Linked DNA regions of Homo sapiens: regions 2, 3, 4, 5 and 6 are each linked to region 1. Evidence: promoter capture Hi-C in human tissues and cell types (Jung and others, 2019). All regions are on one chromosome and are shown on one strand. The core of a region is centred on a gene start or on the middle of the fragment in contact, and the rest is flanking DNA. Distances in the headings are between cores, read along the strand shown. Region 1 holds the start of VLDLR (very low density lipoprotein receptor). Region 2 overlaps SMARCA2 (SWI/SNF related BAF chromatin remodeling complex subunit ATPase 2). Region 3 overlaps SMARCA2 (SWI/SNF related BAF chromatin remodeling complex subunit ATPase 2). Region 4 overlaps LOC107987043 (a long non-coding RNA gene). Region 5 has its middle 240 kb from the start of SMARCA2. Region 6 has its middle 270 kb from the start of VLDLR.

Evidence for each region. The method cuts DNA at HindIII sites, captures the fragments that hold promoters and counts their contacts. A contact is called where the count stands out against the background at its distance.
Region 2: a contact is called between a fragment that was not itself captured here and the fragment with the promoter of VLDLR in region 1, in 3 of the 25 tissues and cell types used here (dorsolateral prefrontal cortex, heart right ventricle and hippocampus).
Region 3: a contact is called between a fragment that was not itself captured here and the fragment with the promoter of VLDLR in region 1, in 2 of the 25 tissues and cell types used here (heart left ventricle and hippocampus).
Region 4: a fragment that was not itself captured here is called in contact with the fragment with the promoter of VLDLR in region 1 in 1 of the 25 tissues and cell types used here (dorsolateral prefrontal cortex).
Region 5: a contact is called between a fragment that was not itself captured here and the fragment with the promoter of VLDLR in region 1, in 1 of the 25 tissues and cell types used here (heart left ventricle).
Region 6: a fragment that was not itself captured here is called in contact with the fragment with the promoter of VLDLR in region 1 in 1 of the 25 tissues and cell types used here (lymphoblastoid cells).

Annotation. Positions count from the first base shown.
Region 1 is chr9:2,620,523-2,623,044 of GRCh38, forward strand. It overlaps VLDLR (very low density lipoprotein receptor), which reads left to right and starts at 1,265. Exons shown (of 19, transcript NM_003383.5): 1 at 1,265-1,749. The coding sequence starts at 1,668. It overlaps VLDLR-AS1 (VLDLR antisense RNA 1), which reads right to left and starts at 1,851. Exons shown (of 4, transcript NR_015375.2): 1 at 1,578-1,851. RefSeq lists an enhancer at 807-1,101 and silencers at 980-1,059, 1,670-1,939, 2,210-2,299, 2,310-2,399. The HindIII fragment of the contact is 11,914 bases long and covers 1-2,522 here.
Region 2 is chr9:2,160,300-2,162,821 of GRCh38, forward strand. It overlaps SMARCA2 (SWI/SNF related BAF chromatin remodeling complex subunit ATPase 2), which reads left to right. Exons shown (of 34, transcript NM_003070.5): 28 at 1,387-1,604. It also overlaps the pseudogene RNU2-25P. Among named protein-coding and RNA genes, the nearest start is that of SMARCA2, 150 kb to the left of the region's middle. The HindIII fragment of the contact is 3,757 bases long and covers 1-2,522 here.
Region 3 is chr9:2,179,828-2,182,349 of GRCh38, forward strand. It overlaps SMARCA2 (SWI/SNF related BAF chromatin remodeling complex subunit ATPase 2), which reads left to right. Exons shown (of 34, transcript NM_003070.5): 30 at 1,744-1,849; 31 at 2,314-2,415. LOC107987043 (a long non-coding RNA gene) reads right to left here. Exons shown (of 5, transcript XR_007061395.1): 3 at 1,010-1,195. Among named protein-coding and RNA genes, the nearest start is that of SMARCA2, 170 kb to the left of the region's middle. The HindIII fragment of the contact is 3,385 bases long and covers 1-2,522 here.
Region 4 is chr9:2,239,665-2,242,186 of GRCh38, forward strand. All of the region lies in intron 1 of LOC107987043 (a long non-coding RNA gene), which reads right to left. Among named protein-coding and RNA genes, the nearest start is that of SMARCA2, 230 kb to the left of the region's middle. RefSeq lists enhancers at 1,272-2,522, 1,463-2,337. The HindIII fragment of the contact is 3,743 bases long and covers 1-2,522 here.
Region 5 is chr9:2,255,953-2,258,474 of GRCh38, forward strand. No RefSeq gene overlaps it. Among named protein-coding and RNA genes, the nearest start is that of SMARCA2, 240 kb to the left of the region's middle. The HindIII fragment of the contact is 4,855 bases long and covers 1-2,522 here.
Region 6 is chr9:2,353,713-2,356,234 of GRCh38, forward strand. No RefSeq gene overlaps it. Among named protein-coding and RNA genes, the nearest start is that of VLDLR, 270 kb to the right of the region's middle. The HindIII fragment of the contact is 5,263 bases long and covers 1-2,522 here.

The sequences.
Region 1 (2,522 bases), core at 15-2,514:
TATTATTGAAACCTTCCAAGTTTGAATTAAGATAAAAACAACTTTTTCAAAATACCAAAAACCTTTTATTTAAGAAAGTGAAATCGCTCGATGTGCCCTCCCACTCTGGTTAGATGCTCAACAGACCACAGCAGACAATGCACCTCAACCAGGGCTAAGTGTGCAAGAAAACTGAAGTACACAAAAAGCAAATTATAGACTCAGGTACTGTCAGGCACAAAAGAAGAACCAACCCTTTCTAGGAGTCTTGTCTTTGCTTCCTTTATTCTTTCCTCGATTCTTGTAATTGAATGTTACAAAGTATATCAAGAGGAATAAACGTATGGGGCCCCTCTCTTCCAAACAAGAAAAGGTTAAGCTTTTAATTACAGGCCCTCAAACTATCATTTTGTGCAATTAGCAATTAACTATAATCGTTGATGAGCAAATGCAAAGCTGCGCTAGCAATTTCCCTTCTCCTCATCCCAGGCTGGGTTATTTCAGTCTTGTTCTATTACAGAGGACCAGCCACAACCGCGCGCACTCTCTTTCAAACATACACACTCTCTCACTTAAAGACACATTTAGTTTTCGGCAAAACGGCATCTCAGCGTGCGATTGAGACCGGCATCCCAAACCCCACTTTTGAGCAGCCCAAACGTTTGGAGCCCCTCCGCTTCATCACTTTCTGAGTGGATAGAGGAGGCCCGAAGAAGATGCTACCTACCAGCCTCTCTCAGGGGCGCAGGAGAGGGTGGTAGAGAGATGCTTGTTGCCCCTGGAAACTGCAAGTACCCCCCAGGTGCACGCCCCGTCAGTGGGGAGGCGGTGGCAACAGCAACGATAGTTGCATCAGCGCTAACTGCTGCTGCTGCTGCGTGTTCTGCCGGAGGCTGCCGGGAGGGTACAGTAATGACTGTAGGGAGCGCACAGCCGCTGCGGCGGCAGGTTCCCTGGATCAGGAAATTAGGACAGGCACCCGGGATTGGAGGCGAGGGCGGCGCGCGAGCCAACCAGCGGTCGCCCCGGGCCCCCGTGAGCCCCAGGCGAACGCGCGGAGCAGCCGGGCCCCTAGAGCGGTCCGGGTGGCGGCGGCGGCAGCCACGACCACGACCGCGGTCACTCACGCACGCTCACACTCGCACGCTCCCCGCGCGGGCACCCGGCTGCCCGGCGCGTGCAAGAGGAGCGCGTCGAGGGAAAGGAGGGCCGAAGCCGCCGCGCTCCCGCCCGCCCGCCGCGCCTCCCGTTGACCACGCCCCCTCCGGCCCCCTCCCCGCTGCTCACCCCGCTCTCCGGCCGCCGCCGGTGCGGGTGCTCCGCTACCGGCTCCTCTCCGTTCTGTGCTCTCTTCTGCTCTCGGCTCCCCACCCCCTCTCCCTTCCCTCCTCTCCCCTTGCCTCCCCTCCTCTGCAGCGCCTGCATTATTTTCTGCCCGCAGGCTCGGCTTGCACTGCTGCTGCAGCCCGGGGAGGTGGCTGGGTGGGTGGGGAGGAGACTGTGCAAGTTGTAGGGGAGGGGGTGCCCTCTTCTTCCCCGCTCCCTTCCCCCGCCAACTCCTTCCCCTCCTTCTCCCCCTTTCCCCTCCCCGCCCCCACCTTCTTCCTCCTTTCGGAAGGACTGGTAACTTGTCGTGCGGAGCGAACGGCGGCGGCGGCGGCGGCGGCGGCACCATCCAGGCGGGCACCATGGGCACGTCCGCGCTCTGGGCGCTCTGGCTGCTGCTCGCGCTGTGCTGGGCGCCCCGGGAGAGCGGCGCCACCGGAACCGGTGAGTGAGGACGCGCCCCTCCGCCGGCGGGCGGGACCCAGCCGGGGCACCGGGAGACCCCGAGGCGTAGGTCTCCGTTTGCCCACCCGCCTCCTAGGAGGCGCCTCTCGGTTCTCCTCGCCTTCCCTCCCTCCCCTCCGTGGTGGCGCCTCTGAGCTGTCAGCGCCGAGGCTAAAGGGAGCCGGGCTTGGGGAACAGCGGGGTTCGGGGTGCCCCGACGCCTCGCCTGAACTAGTCTTCTGCCCCTCACTCCGCCTCCCCCAGAGCCGCTGCTTCGCCTCGTTTCTCGCCCTCTTGACGGGCGCCGAGGTGCGTGGGCTTCTGAGCATTGAACAATGGTTCTGCCTCCTCTGCCAGGCGCAGTGTTGGGAAGGAGGCAGAGGGCCAAGACGTGTGCGGCAGCCTCGGGCGCACCCTCGAACCCCGGGGAGTGCGGGAGCGGACGGGGGGAGAAGGTGAGCGCCTCCGGGGACGCGGAGCGCCAGGGGCCGGCCGGGCTTCAGAGTCTTCCGGCGGCCGCGAGCTGGCGCACGTTCGGTGGGCGGCGGCCGGGAGGCTCCGCGGAGCCGAGGGCACCCGGACTGCGACTCCCCCGGCGCGGGGCCGCCTCTCCGGCGTGCGGGGTAGGGGAGCGGCGGGGCTTTACGCAGGACTCTGCTCTGGGCGCTTCTCCTCTCCCTTTTCCCCGCCTCGGGCGGCGTTTGGAAACCGCTCGGGTCTCCCGTGTAGCTGAACGCGGAGGGGGAGTGGAGGGGAGACTTAATCAGGTTAGT
Region 2 (2,522 bases), core at 9-2,508, 460 kb before region 1:
GATGGAAATTGTCTTTTGATTATTAAGGCCTAGGCTCAGACTGTCCCTTAGGAATCTGTCTGTGTGCATGTTGCTTCTATGGATTTGCACATTGGAGGATGCGTAGAAAACATATTTTTTTAAAAATCCCACTGGCATTTTTAACATGCCAGGTTGTTTTGTGTTCTGCACCAGGTTTTCTTCACAAAACCTTTCTTTTTCAGGAAGCGTTGTACATAAGTGAAAGAAATTATGTCTGAGCTGTAATCACTCTTTATATTGATTGTTATACTCACATGATCATAAATATTAGCCATGTTTGGTGCTGTGGAGAAATGAAGGTAATTGCCTTATGATTAGAGCTCTTTCAGCTACGAGAAAGGATTGATTATCATTTGCATACTGGAGGCAATATTGAGAGGCAGGAGGAACAAATAACAACATTAGTTATTTTGTGTGAGAGAGCAATCTCAAAACGTAATTTAAAGATCTTTTTTTTAGAAAATTTCTTTTCTATGTTCAAATTTTATGTTCTTTTTTTTTTTCTTCCTTGGCAGTATTTTTCCCCTTTATTTTTCTTCTTTTGAGTTTTGAGATTTACCAGGAAAAAAAAAAAAAGTTTAAACTTCTGGGTCTGTCACATGGATCTTTTAGCCCTTTATGAACAGGTTTCTTTTATACCTGGTTGTTTTTATAGCTATTTTATTATCTCTCTGCATTAGTGCTGCTGGCTCTGGTTTAAAGCAAGCGTTTGCAGGTAATTGGAAAAAAGTGTTTATTGTTTGTGAGTGTGTGTGTTCTTTATCGAATGATTTAAGTGCGTTTACCAAGGAATGTGGCTTTGTACTTTCCCGTTTCCTTGTTTACTAATTGCCACGTTAGAACAAAAATCTAGATGGAATTTTGATTTATATTGTTAATCATGAATAAATTGATGCAAAACCTGAAGAAAAGGTCAAAGCTTATATGATCGTGTGGATGTATTCTTAGGGATTGTTTTTTCATAACCCACCCCTCGTTTTGTTTACCTTTTCCTTCCCTTACAGTAATGAGAACATTAGGGTCTTGTTCTTAAACTGAGCTAAAATTTCATCTGGATTCAGTTATCATCAAACACTTGAATTTATAGATCTTTTAATATTTGTCATATTCTCCTTTACTGTGAGTGTTTTGGGCCTTCAGTGTGTTTTGCTCATGAAACAGACTTGAGTTAAAGATGCATTTATCCAATATGGTAGCATTCCTTTTTTCTTCTTCCTCCACTGATTACTGTTAACTTTTACTTTTTTTTGGTTAATTTCTTTCATTTTATTCTAATTGTTGGAGCTATATATAAATATACACATACTTTTTTTGTCTTGGTTATTCTCTTGTCTTGAATTTGTCTCCTTTGTTTCCAACGAACAGGCCATCGAAGACGGCAATTTGGAGGAAATGGAAGAGGAAGTACGGCTTAAGAAGCGAAAAAGACGAAGAAATGTGGATAAAGATCCTGCAAAAGAAGATGTGGAAAAAGCTAAGAAGAGAAGAGGCCGCCCTCCCGCTGAGAAACTGTCACCAAATCCCCCCAAACTGACAAAGCAGATGAACGCTATCATCGATACTGTGATAAACTACAAAGATAGGTGAGTGTTTGGTTCCTTCACCTTGATCATCTCTCACCAAGACGCCGAGTGGCGCTCCCTGAGGAGCAGGAGTTGTTAAGTTGTGCACTTAGGTTTTATTAAGGTTCTTTCTAGTTTGTGTTTTATGGCTTTCTCTCTTTGTACCTGTTTAAAATGGCCACTGTTGCTATTTTGTATGATGTTTCATCAGGTATTATTTAAGATAGTTGAAAATTTAGTTTAGATTACAAAATGTTTAAAATATCTAAATTAGAAAAGGATTCTTAAGGACCTCTGAAATACCATCTGAAAATGAAGATATTTCAGATGAAAGGGATTGGAATGATGGAGTAATATTATTTTTTTTAATTGAATTGTTAGAGAAAGAAGAATCCTAATATATTTAAGGTAAATATTTCATGTTAAGACTGTTTAAAGCAAAATAGATGCTTCATAGTAAATACAGTTTCTCCTTTCCTTCCAACACTTGAATTTCTGAGCACTTGAATTATCTCTTTCTTCCTAATACCACATAGCATGGTCTTTCAGCAAATTTACCTTTTTTATGGGATTTTTGGATACAGACTTTGAGAAAGCTGTGTGGGACACTCCTCCCAGGCCATTTTAAACAGTGAATAATTATTTGAAAACCAAAGACACTGTAGGGTGTCAGTCAGATCCATACAGTAGATGAACTAGTTAGGCTACGTTTTGGTTAGTTGACTTGGTTTCCACTTTATTATCACGTGGTAATGTTTTTATTTGAAGATGGCTTCTCGTTTCAGTTGAAAAATTGACAGGAAACAGACATTTTCACTCTCTCAGTTGCATAGTGGTATTAATCAGTTTTAAATTACCAATTGAAAAAAATTTTTTCTTAAGGGGGTGCATCATTCCTGGAGGTACTGCAGTACCAGGTCGATGTGTGGAGTGGATGAA
Region 3 (2,522 bases), core at 13-2,512, 440 kb before region 1:
AAGAGGTCTGACTTTTGGGGTGCTGCTAGCTGATAAAGAATGCTCATTAAGCAAGTTGCTCTCTACAAATTACTCTCACTGCATTTCATAGGCACCTTTTCAAACAGATAAAATGTTTGGGTGTATAAATCTCAGAATGGTAGGAAAAGAACAGACCAGAAATTGTGGCCCTGTGTTGAAGGTGATGGTAAATAAAATAGTTCTTGTCATATACTATGTGGCATAAGTTAGGGAAGGACGAACGCATTTCTCGAAGAGATGTGAGGGGTAGGGGTGGTTGAGAGGGTGAGAGAACACCTTGGTTCTTGCTGCAGTGATCCAGAAATCCAATTCCTGAGTAAAATGCAGTCTTCTTAAACCTCTTGCGTTCACCCCTGATTTTCGTACTCATGAGGCCCATATGTGCATTAAAAAAATAAAACAAAAACGATGACCCAGTGTAGCAGAAAAACTAGCCCATCTCTTTGACAGAGGATTTTCGGTTAATTTATGCAGGCCTCTTTGCACTTCAGCATTTTTTCCACTGGTTGCTAAGCAACTGTTTGAGTTACTGCGCATGCCTTTTTTATGATAACTGTCATTATGATTACTTTTTAATTATACAACTGGGACTGTGGATTAAAACAGCATGTTGTCACTCATGCTTTGCCACTGCCTTCTAGTATTCTCACAAGCTCCTAGAATCACCTTCTGAAATTTTTATGGCAGTGATTTATGATTAATTTTTGATATTTCTGGCTTCACAAAGGAAGTAGAGATGGCATCCTAAGGGGAGTGAGACTTTTGTGAAAAATGACTGTATCACACACCACAAGCTGTTATTGATCTGAGTAGACCAAATCAGATATTAGGATCTTGAACCTAAATTGTGAATCTCTTTGTGCCTTTAACCACATCTGCTTCCAACAGTAAGTGATGTTAAAAGCTCATATGCTTTGTAGCCTGTGTTTGAAAATTACAAAAATGCTAAGCATTTGTTGCTATAGAACCTGCTTTCAAATAAACTTACCATGAATTTGGGGGAGGGTACAGCACTAATCCCAGAAATGTGAAGCATCCACACTTAAGCTTGTGAAACATGTTCTTCTTTCACCCAAATTGCTCTACACACACACAATGGCAGTTAGGCAAGATGAAGGGGTTCCTCTGGCAAGTAATAATAAAGGTATGTGTGGTTTACAGTATGTAAAATACCCTAAAGGAATAAGACCAAGAAAATAGTCAGCCAGTAGGTACGTACGAAGGCTTTTCACTTGAGTTTCCAGAGTATATTCTAACATATTATTTTGAGTTACTTTCTAAATACAATGTGAATTTGAAAACAAAGGAGTATGGAAATACAATGTTTAAATATGTATATTTTTATATATATGTACGTGTATATATATACATATATATTTACCAATTCATTTAAAAATGAAATTTTTAGCTAACAAGGATATTTTAAATATTTCTATCAAAATAAAGAGATATATTTGCTCTGAAAGGGAAATCCACAGTGTATTTCCCATATTGTATGTGTGACAGAAGTGGGGACCAAATTGTATTTTACTGTGATCTTAAAATTATCACAAGGGACATCAATCTCCAATAGAGTTGTGGGATTTTTCCTGACTTAAAAAGCTCCATATCTATATGCGTGGAATATAATTTACTTTGTTGACATGTTCTGAAATAAAAATAAAACCTTTCCTCAGTAATGTTTGATGTGGCTTGTTTTTGTTTGTTTCACCCATCCTACAGTTCAGGGCGACAGCTCAGTGAAGTCTTCATTCAGTTACCTTCAAGGAAAGAATTACCAGAATACTATGAATTAATTAGGAAGCCAGTGGATTTCAAAAAAATAAAGGTAGATATTTTGTTTACCAACTTTATTCTTCAAGTAAATAAAGGAGCAGTGTAAAGTCATTGAAATGGTTGTAGTTGGAGCTGACCGCCACTGATGGGTACCCAGGGCTCGCGACAGGAAAGGTTGGGATGTCCTTGTGCTTTTCCGTGAGTGTTACTTAATCATGTTGAGAGCTCACGTTATATTGCATTTTATTGAAGAGCTTTCAGGCTCCCTGCTCCCCCTGCCCACATTATTGCTCTTCTCATTTCCCATCATATGCTCCTCCTTGGCAAAAGGAATGACAGTGGGAGTGGGAGGGTGGACTTGGTGAATGGCGCCCCCTGGGGTTATGCAGTCCCAGATCCCTGGCAGGGCTTTATGCTGTGAAGACAAAGGGAAAATCAGGCTTTGTTAACTAAGTAATGATCGCTGAATTTTCCTCTCCCTCTTTTTTTCTCCATTTTCTCCAAAATTTCCATCAGGAAAGGATTCGTAATCATAAGTACCGGAGCCTAGGCGACCTGGAGAAGGATGTCATGCTTCTCTGTCACAACGCTCAGACGTTCAACCTGGAGGGATCCCAGGTCTGTCTTGTTAAGTTGTCTAAAAGTTCTTAACTGTAAATGTGCCCGTTGTTCTTTTTAAGTAGAATATTTCATTTTCTACCTCTTGAATCATTGCTACTGGCAGA
Region 4 (2,522 bases), core at 11-2,510, 380 kb before region 1:
TAGTTACGGGATAATTTGTTCAACCTCTTATATCCTGGGTCTCTCTATTGAAAATCCCAGTTCCTGGAAGAGAGAATAGGATTGGCCTGGTCATATTCCCTATTGGTCACATGTCCTGATTTACCAGAGCCATGTGGAGTCAGAGAGGGGTCATTCTTCAAAGGCCAGGGAATGAGAGGGAAGGAAGACTGCATGGATGAAAATAACCTCCAATCTGGACACTGTCAAAGCCAACAGACAGAAAACACCAAGATCCAAGAAGGCATGCAGGTAAGAAACACTGACAAAGCCAAGATTGTTCTTGAAGAATTCATCCCACAGAAGGGCAGCAGTTCACTTGCTGCATTCTGTTGACCTTTGGATTCCAGGACTGGAGTACATAACTAATGTAAAAGAGTGAACAATGACATATGGATGACACTCTTCCCACGGTGCCTTAACTCGCCATATTCCCTCTGTCTGGGAAATGTGTGCCAACCCCAAATGTCACTCTGATCATCTCTCCTGTTCAGAAAACTAGACTTTGATCATCCTTTATGATCTCTTCTCTTGTGAACTTTATGGTGGTCAAAGTCACAGCAAGGTCGATTAAGAAAGGCCAAGAATCAGTGCTCCTGTTTGCTGGGACCAGGAGGCAGAGGACTAGCCTGTCATTCACAGGTCTTCTTTAGGGGAGGGGGCAGGGCTTGTAAATTGGGGAAGTGGGTGGGGTGGTGGGAAGCAGGAAATATTGCCAGGCCGGCAGGAATCCTGACCCTCTTGGTAACTCATCCTGTACCAAGCAACCAAGATAATTTTTTAAAGTACAGACTTGTGTGTGGAAATATATCCTTCCCACAGCTCAACCTCAGCTTTGAAATGATTCTCAACAGAAACACACACAGGTAAACAGTAACTTTCTGAAGCACAATGAGTGGCCTCTGCTACAGAGACCAGTTTGGAGACTGCCACATAATACAATTTAAATTAAGCATGAGTATCTTTTTTTTTTTTTTTTTGAGACAGAGTCTTGCTCTGTCACCCAGACTGGAGTGCAGTGGCGCGATCTCGGCTCACTGCAACCTCCACCTCGCGGGTTCACACCATTCTCCTGCCTCAGCCTCCCAGGTAGCTGGGACTACAGGTGCATGCCACCACGCCCCGCTAATTTTTGTATTTTTAGTAGAGATGGGGTTTCGCCATGTTGGCCAGGCTGGTCTCGAACTGCTGACCTCAGGTGATCCACCCGCCTCTGCCTTCCAAAGTGCTGGGATTACAGGTGTGAGCCACCGCACCAGGCCGCATGAATATCTTTATTCATGAGCCTGGATCCCTAAGAATGAGGGTGCCTCTGACTATTCTTAATTCGTTCAGCAGTCACATTCATCGCACAACACCCAAAGACATATTTGGTCTGCAGTTCGCACCTATTCCTCTGGAGCTTTGAACAGTTAATAAACATTAGCTCGTTAGCATTAATTAAAAGGCATCTTATTACAGCAGGATCCAGAGTTACCACCTAGCCACTCTAAAAACCAGCGGTCGGCTTGACTTCCAGCAAAGCCTCTTTTATCGATGGCTTCTGTGGGTGTAGTTAACCTCCGCCGTCCCCCGTCTGATCTCATTATTTCAGATCCTCGCATCCTGGCTGGCTTTGCCTTCTCTCTCTCCTCGATCCTCCCTTTACATAAATGCGATTGTTTCGTTGCTTCCTTCCTCGGAGCCCGGGTTTTGTCCGGGCTTGGCTCGGTTTGCGCGTTTAAGAACGAGCGCCTAGGCCTCCGGGCAAGGGTCTAGAGCTCCCGCAGCCCTTCACTGGGTGACCTCCTCCTGTCGGGGCCATTTGTCTTCAGGGCCTCTCTTTGAGGCTCTGAACAGGACGCTCCAAGTGGGGCCCGAGCGCTTGGCAGACAAGCCCCTGGATTGTTGCTAGAGACCCTCAGGTCGCCTTGGGGCGGAGCGCGCCTTTCATGAATCCGGGAGCCTGGGATGCGCATGGCGAGGAGGGGGGAAACGTGCTGGGGAGAAGGCAGGCCTTGATGTACGCCCTGGTGGACAAAAGCTGCTAGTGTCAGCTTGATTTGCAAGATCAACATTCATGAGTTTCACCGCTTAGAAAGGGGCATTATCTGCAAACCGGAGACTGAATGGAAGCCATAAACAAGTGATTTCACACTACCAAGCAGGAAGAATATTCTACCTCCTCAATTATTCTGAACAGCATGTTTGGCCCCTTCCAGGTTCCCACCGCTAGCGAGCCCTCCACCCCTGGTGTGTGCAAACGGTGGACCTTTCGGCGCCTAAGAAACCGGGTGCTGAGCCCGGGAGCAGCGCCTGCTTTTCTTCCCAAGATCCACTCCGGGTTTTGCCTAGCGCTGCTCCGGGAACCCATTCCAGACGCAGGTAACGCCAGGCAACGTTTTCCTTCTCACCCGCCCAAGGCCAGCCCCGAGCCGCCGGGGTTCCAGGCCCAACACAGCACAGATGCACGTTTCAAAATGTGCTCGAATATGCAGCCTGCATCAAAGGCGTTGGGAGGCTCT
Region 5 (2,522 bases), core at 10-2,509, 360 kb before region 1:
GTCTAGCACACATGCCTTTTCCTGACATTTCCACTGCACATTTCTGCCATCCATTCTGGAAGACAAAGCCCACATGTTACCTCTTAGTGCTACCTCCAGGTCTCCCTAGCTAAGACAGTTACTCGTATCTCCCATAGTCTTTCTCACCCCTTGTGTCTGCATTATAGATGGTGTACACTCAGGGTATGTTCGTCTCCCTATTTATTAGACAATTAGTCCCTTGAGCACATACACCATCTCTATTCATATTCACAATATCTGCACCTAATGCTAGGGCATTTTTTGCACTGAAAAACATTGTGGTTGAAGAAATAAGTGAATGAATGAGCCATCTACAATAATTGGTTCCACATAGATGACACTTTCCATTAGCTCTGAGAACAGGGCATCTTCTTTCACACAGGGGTGTCACATCTTTATACAGTTTTTTATGCACTCAATTAAAAAAAATTTCAAGAACCAGACAACTAAATTTTTTTCTATGTAAACTCATCCAGACTTGATTAACCATGAACATCATCCACCTTAACTGGCCATTATATTTACAGAAGAAAGGCTCCAATAACAACTCCCATTCTTACTCCTCATCCTCCTAAGGAGATGTCAGTGTTTCAAGATGAGATTTCATGTCACTTCTCTTCTAGAAGCCTTAGATAACTGGGATATGTAGAGTTTAATATGATTCTCATGTGCAATTAATAATGTTTTTTCAGGCCGGGTATAGTGGCTCACATCTGTAATCGCAGCACTTTGGGAAGACGAGGCGGGTGGATCACCTAAGGATAGGAGTTCGAGACCAGCCTGGTCAACATGGCAAAACCCCAACTCTATTAAAAATACAAAAATTAGCTGGGTGTGGTGGCGGGAGCCTGTAATTCCAGCTAGTTGGGAGGGTGAGGCAGGAGAATCGCTTGAACCCAGGAGGCGGAGGTCAAGACTCTGTTTCAAAAAAAAAAAAAAAAAAAGAATTTTTTCAACAAAGCTGTGGATTCAGCTCTAGCATAGGTATCTGTTCAAAGCTACTTTTCGTTTGATTTAACATTACATATCAGTAAACCAGCAAGTTAGGAGCAAGATTTGTGGCCACATTACAAACAAAATCTTTCCGAGGAAGAGGATTCCAACTAAGAACCTGGGCGTTCCTAGTGTCCACCAGTCAAATAAAAACTGTATTCTCTCCTTTTTGCTGTGCTGATTAAGACAGACCACTAACGAAACAAAATTATGAGCTTAGTCCCAACGTGAGGCAGATGGTTTTGTGTTTATAGATTTGAAATGTCTGAGCTAGAAGGGGTCACAGAGGTCATCTAATTCAATTCCTTCATTTTATAAATTGGAAATAACAAAAAAAAAAACAAAATGAAAGTCAGAGGGGTTAAGTGACTAGCTCCTTGTCATAATTATGTCTGCAGACTGCTTTTAACCTTGGATCATCACACGCCCATCACTTTTGGAGAAAAAAAATGTCAAAGCACATCTCTATAATGGTGTGCATCCGATGTTTCATCATTAAGCGAGAAGGATAATGCATTGCTCTGGGGAAAGATTTTAAGGGCTTACATACAATGGAAAGAGGTACCGAAGCAACATCCTGACCATGTTAATTTCCTTTTGACTCCCTTACATCTTGTTTCTTCAGTATGTCTACTAATAAAGGGGCTCATAGCCCCCACACATTGTGTCGCTTTAATGCTTTGAGAGTTCAATAGTAAGCAATGACAAACATGTGATGCCCTGGCTCTTTCCTCTGAGAGTGCATTGGGCTGGAAAAAATGTTCAATCATCAGCAAGCTTCCTCTTTCCTGCACCTGCTGACAAACCCCAGGAGCACCTGTCTGCTGATGGACGCTAACATCCACAGATAATGCTTTAATCTTACTTTAGCTACAAGGAAGCATGGCTAGGTACTCTATATATCATTCATTTTATTCATACTCTTTGCTTAAGGTGATTTTAATGAGAGAGAAGAGAGGATAGGAAGAGAGGGAGAGGGATAGAGGATTTGTATAGAGGATCTGGAAAAGGAAACGGGGTTGTGAATTAAATATTTTATTGTCCTGGTCTGTCAGTTTTGTAATTTTGAGAATTTTTTTAAACCATTTGTGTCTCAGTTTCCCTATCTATAAAATGGGACAGATTGGACTAGGTGAATTTAGTTAAAACCCTTTTATAATTATAACACTCTGTATTTTTCCTTTAGAAAAGAGGATAGCAGCAATAAGTCAGATTCTTCCATAGGTTGCACTGATGACCTGGAGGAGCAAACACCTTGACTCTAGTTTCCATTTTAATAAAGGGAACTGTAGCTATTCTGCAGTCCTTCTCTACCTCTCTTAACCAAGCACTAGGTACATATGTTTAATGACTTTTGTTATTCTTTTAAGGCTATCTTCACACTAGAGTAATGACTTGGACAGCAACAGAAGCCTATCAGATGATAGAAGAAAACAAGGAGTGACCTGCAGAAAGACAATAAAACCTTGGCTCTATAGACTGCAGTGTCTACAACACACACTGAAAAA
Region 6 (2,522 bases), core at 9-2,508, 270 kb before region 1:
CGACGTGGCCTTTTCTCTGAGTGTGTATATCCCCGGTGTCTCTCTCTGTATGTCCTAATCTCTTCTTATAAGGACACCAGCCAGATTGGATCACAGCAAAAGGCCTCATCTTAACTTAATCACCCTCTTAAAGACCCTACCTCCAATATAGTCACATTCTAAGGTACTGGGAGTTAATGCTTCAACATATGAATTTTAGTGGACAGGCAGGTGTGCTGGTGGCGGGAGCACAAGTCAGCGCATAATAACCTTCATGGACCTTTTTCTTCCCCTGCTTAAAGTCAGGCCACACACAATGCATGCCAACCCTGGTGTCTTTAACCACCACCTGCCTCCATCTCTCCTGGTTGCCCGGTGGAACCATGGACAGCCCAGCTGAGGTCAGCTGCAAAACACAAGGACCTAGTAAAATCAGATTAGGTAAACCCAGAGGACTTATTCATCAGGCTAAGCCATTGTAGGTCTTGGAATAATACAATTTGGCATTTGTTAGTATAACATTTTGGTTTCTACAAAGATAAGTCCCACCTTCTTAAAGTAAGTATAAACACTTCAAAACACAAGTAACAGCCTAAGAGCTAAAGGATACATAATGGCAGAAGGTCCCATGATTTCACCCCCCAAAGGGCAGCTACATCAGGTGACAGTTCTGGAGAACTGGGACCCTGGCTTCCGGCCTCAGGCCTGCAGCCAACAATGTAGAAAGGGGAAGTCTCAGAACCTCTTTGCAGTTCAGGGTGTCCACCAGTAGAAGAGGAGTAACCACATTTTGCAGATAATATAAAGTAAAAGCTTGGGAAGTTCTTGGGATCTGAAGTAAATGTGTAACCATAAGATTTTGTTTAAAAGCACGCTATTGTTGCCCAGATTTTATCCTGTGTTAGTCGTGTCTCAGTCTACGCAGTGCCAAGTGCCTTGCTATTGTAACAGAGAAAGCCTGGAAGGCAATCATTCTTGTTAGCCCCTAATGCTAGAAGTGGCCACATACAAGTCCTGGGTCATTTTTATTTTCAACTCCTTACAACAGAAACATTAACGAGGCCAGAAAAAGGGAGAGAAAAATAAAACAAAGCTTTTGAAATCATAAAAGAAAAGGAACTTGGGTTTTGATTGTGTTTCTAGAAAAATAAAAACAAGGCATAGATTCATCGATTCTCCCTCAAGTATTTCCTGTAGTGCAATAAAGCAACCCCAAGTGTGACCCCCAGAAGCAGGTACGGTGAGCTGAGAAGCTCAGGGGCAAGGTAGGGAGGGCATCTGTCCCCATAACAATCTGCAGACTTTAAACACACAGGGAGAGCCTTGCAGTTACCCTGAGGCGGTGGGTTGGGTGGGGAGGGTAGAGTCAGTGCCCATGCCCTGTCCTTCACCTGAGGGAACGTGGCTTCTCTGCGGCTCTCCGTGTTTTGGAACTCGTTTGAGTTGTTGAAATCAGCTGGGTGCAAGTGAGTTTTGTTTTTGTTTTTCTGGGGAGAGGAAAGATTAGAGTGGGAAAAGGGAGAACAGGAGTGTCAGAGAAAGATTTTTCATGGCCCAGCCCTCGGCACATGTTGAAAACATCTTATAGGCTGATTTTAATTAGAACTCTCTATCTGGAGGGAGAAACTGAATACAGGTTCCAAAAACCATAACCTTTTTTAAATGGCATTCTTTTCATGGGCCTTTTCCAAAAAAGTTTCTATGCATTTACTATCAGTCTAAAGACATTTCCTGTTTCCCCTCTTCTCAGTTTACATTTTGGCATTTTCACAGTTTCTTCATTCCTGTTTCCCATGGCCCTTTACTATGCAAAAAGGGTGTGTACCTGTGCAAATGTGCAAGAAATGAAGGAAAATTAATAAACTAGCAAGAGAATTGGAGGGCAAGTTATGAAAAAAGAGTGAAGAGCTAAATTTATATAACCTAGAAAAAGAGAAGGCTCTGGAGGAACATGATAAAGTTACACTTCACAGAAGCAATGTAAATGAAGGGAGGGAATTATTCACAGTCTCAGAAGATGGCAGGACAGAAGGGCTGGCCCCAAGCCAAGGCGGGAAAACAGAATAATGAAGGATGATAAAGGCGAAGACCAGAGGGAGCGCCTGCTGTGGGGCCAGTGACCCCACCCTTCCAGTTCATTTCCGACAGACACGAGGGATCCAGCAGCATCGAGGTCAGCTGAGCAGTTCCACGTGGAGCTTTCCCACCCACAGCTCCTTCCTGGTCTGGTAGAATCTCCTGCACTGCTGTGGACAGTGGGGTGAAGGAAAAAGGATATGTTTTTCCCCAACATGGACAAACTTCCTCTCAAAGTAACTTTAAAGAACCAAACTTCCCTCCCTAAACACAGAAATAATTTCAAGCATAACACTCCAGTGACTTGTGTTCATTTTTTAATTCTATCTTGCTCTGTTTAATTTTTGATCAATTGGAGCTATTTTAATGCTTGTGAAGTCTTTCGTCTGGACTAAAAATGAGGACGATCCTTTTACTCTGGGCATAATAGCACAGACATTTAGTGATGGATTAACAGGGCTCCATGC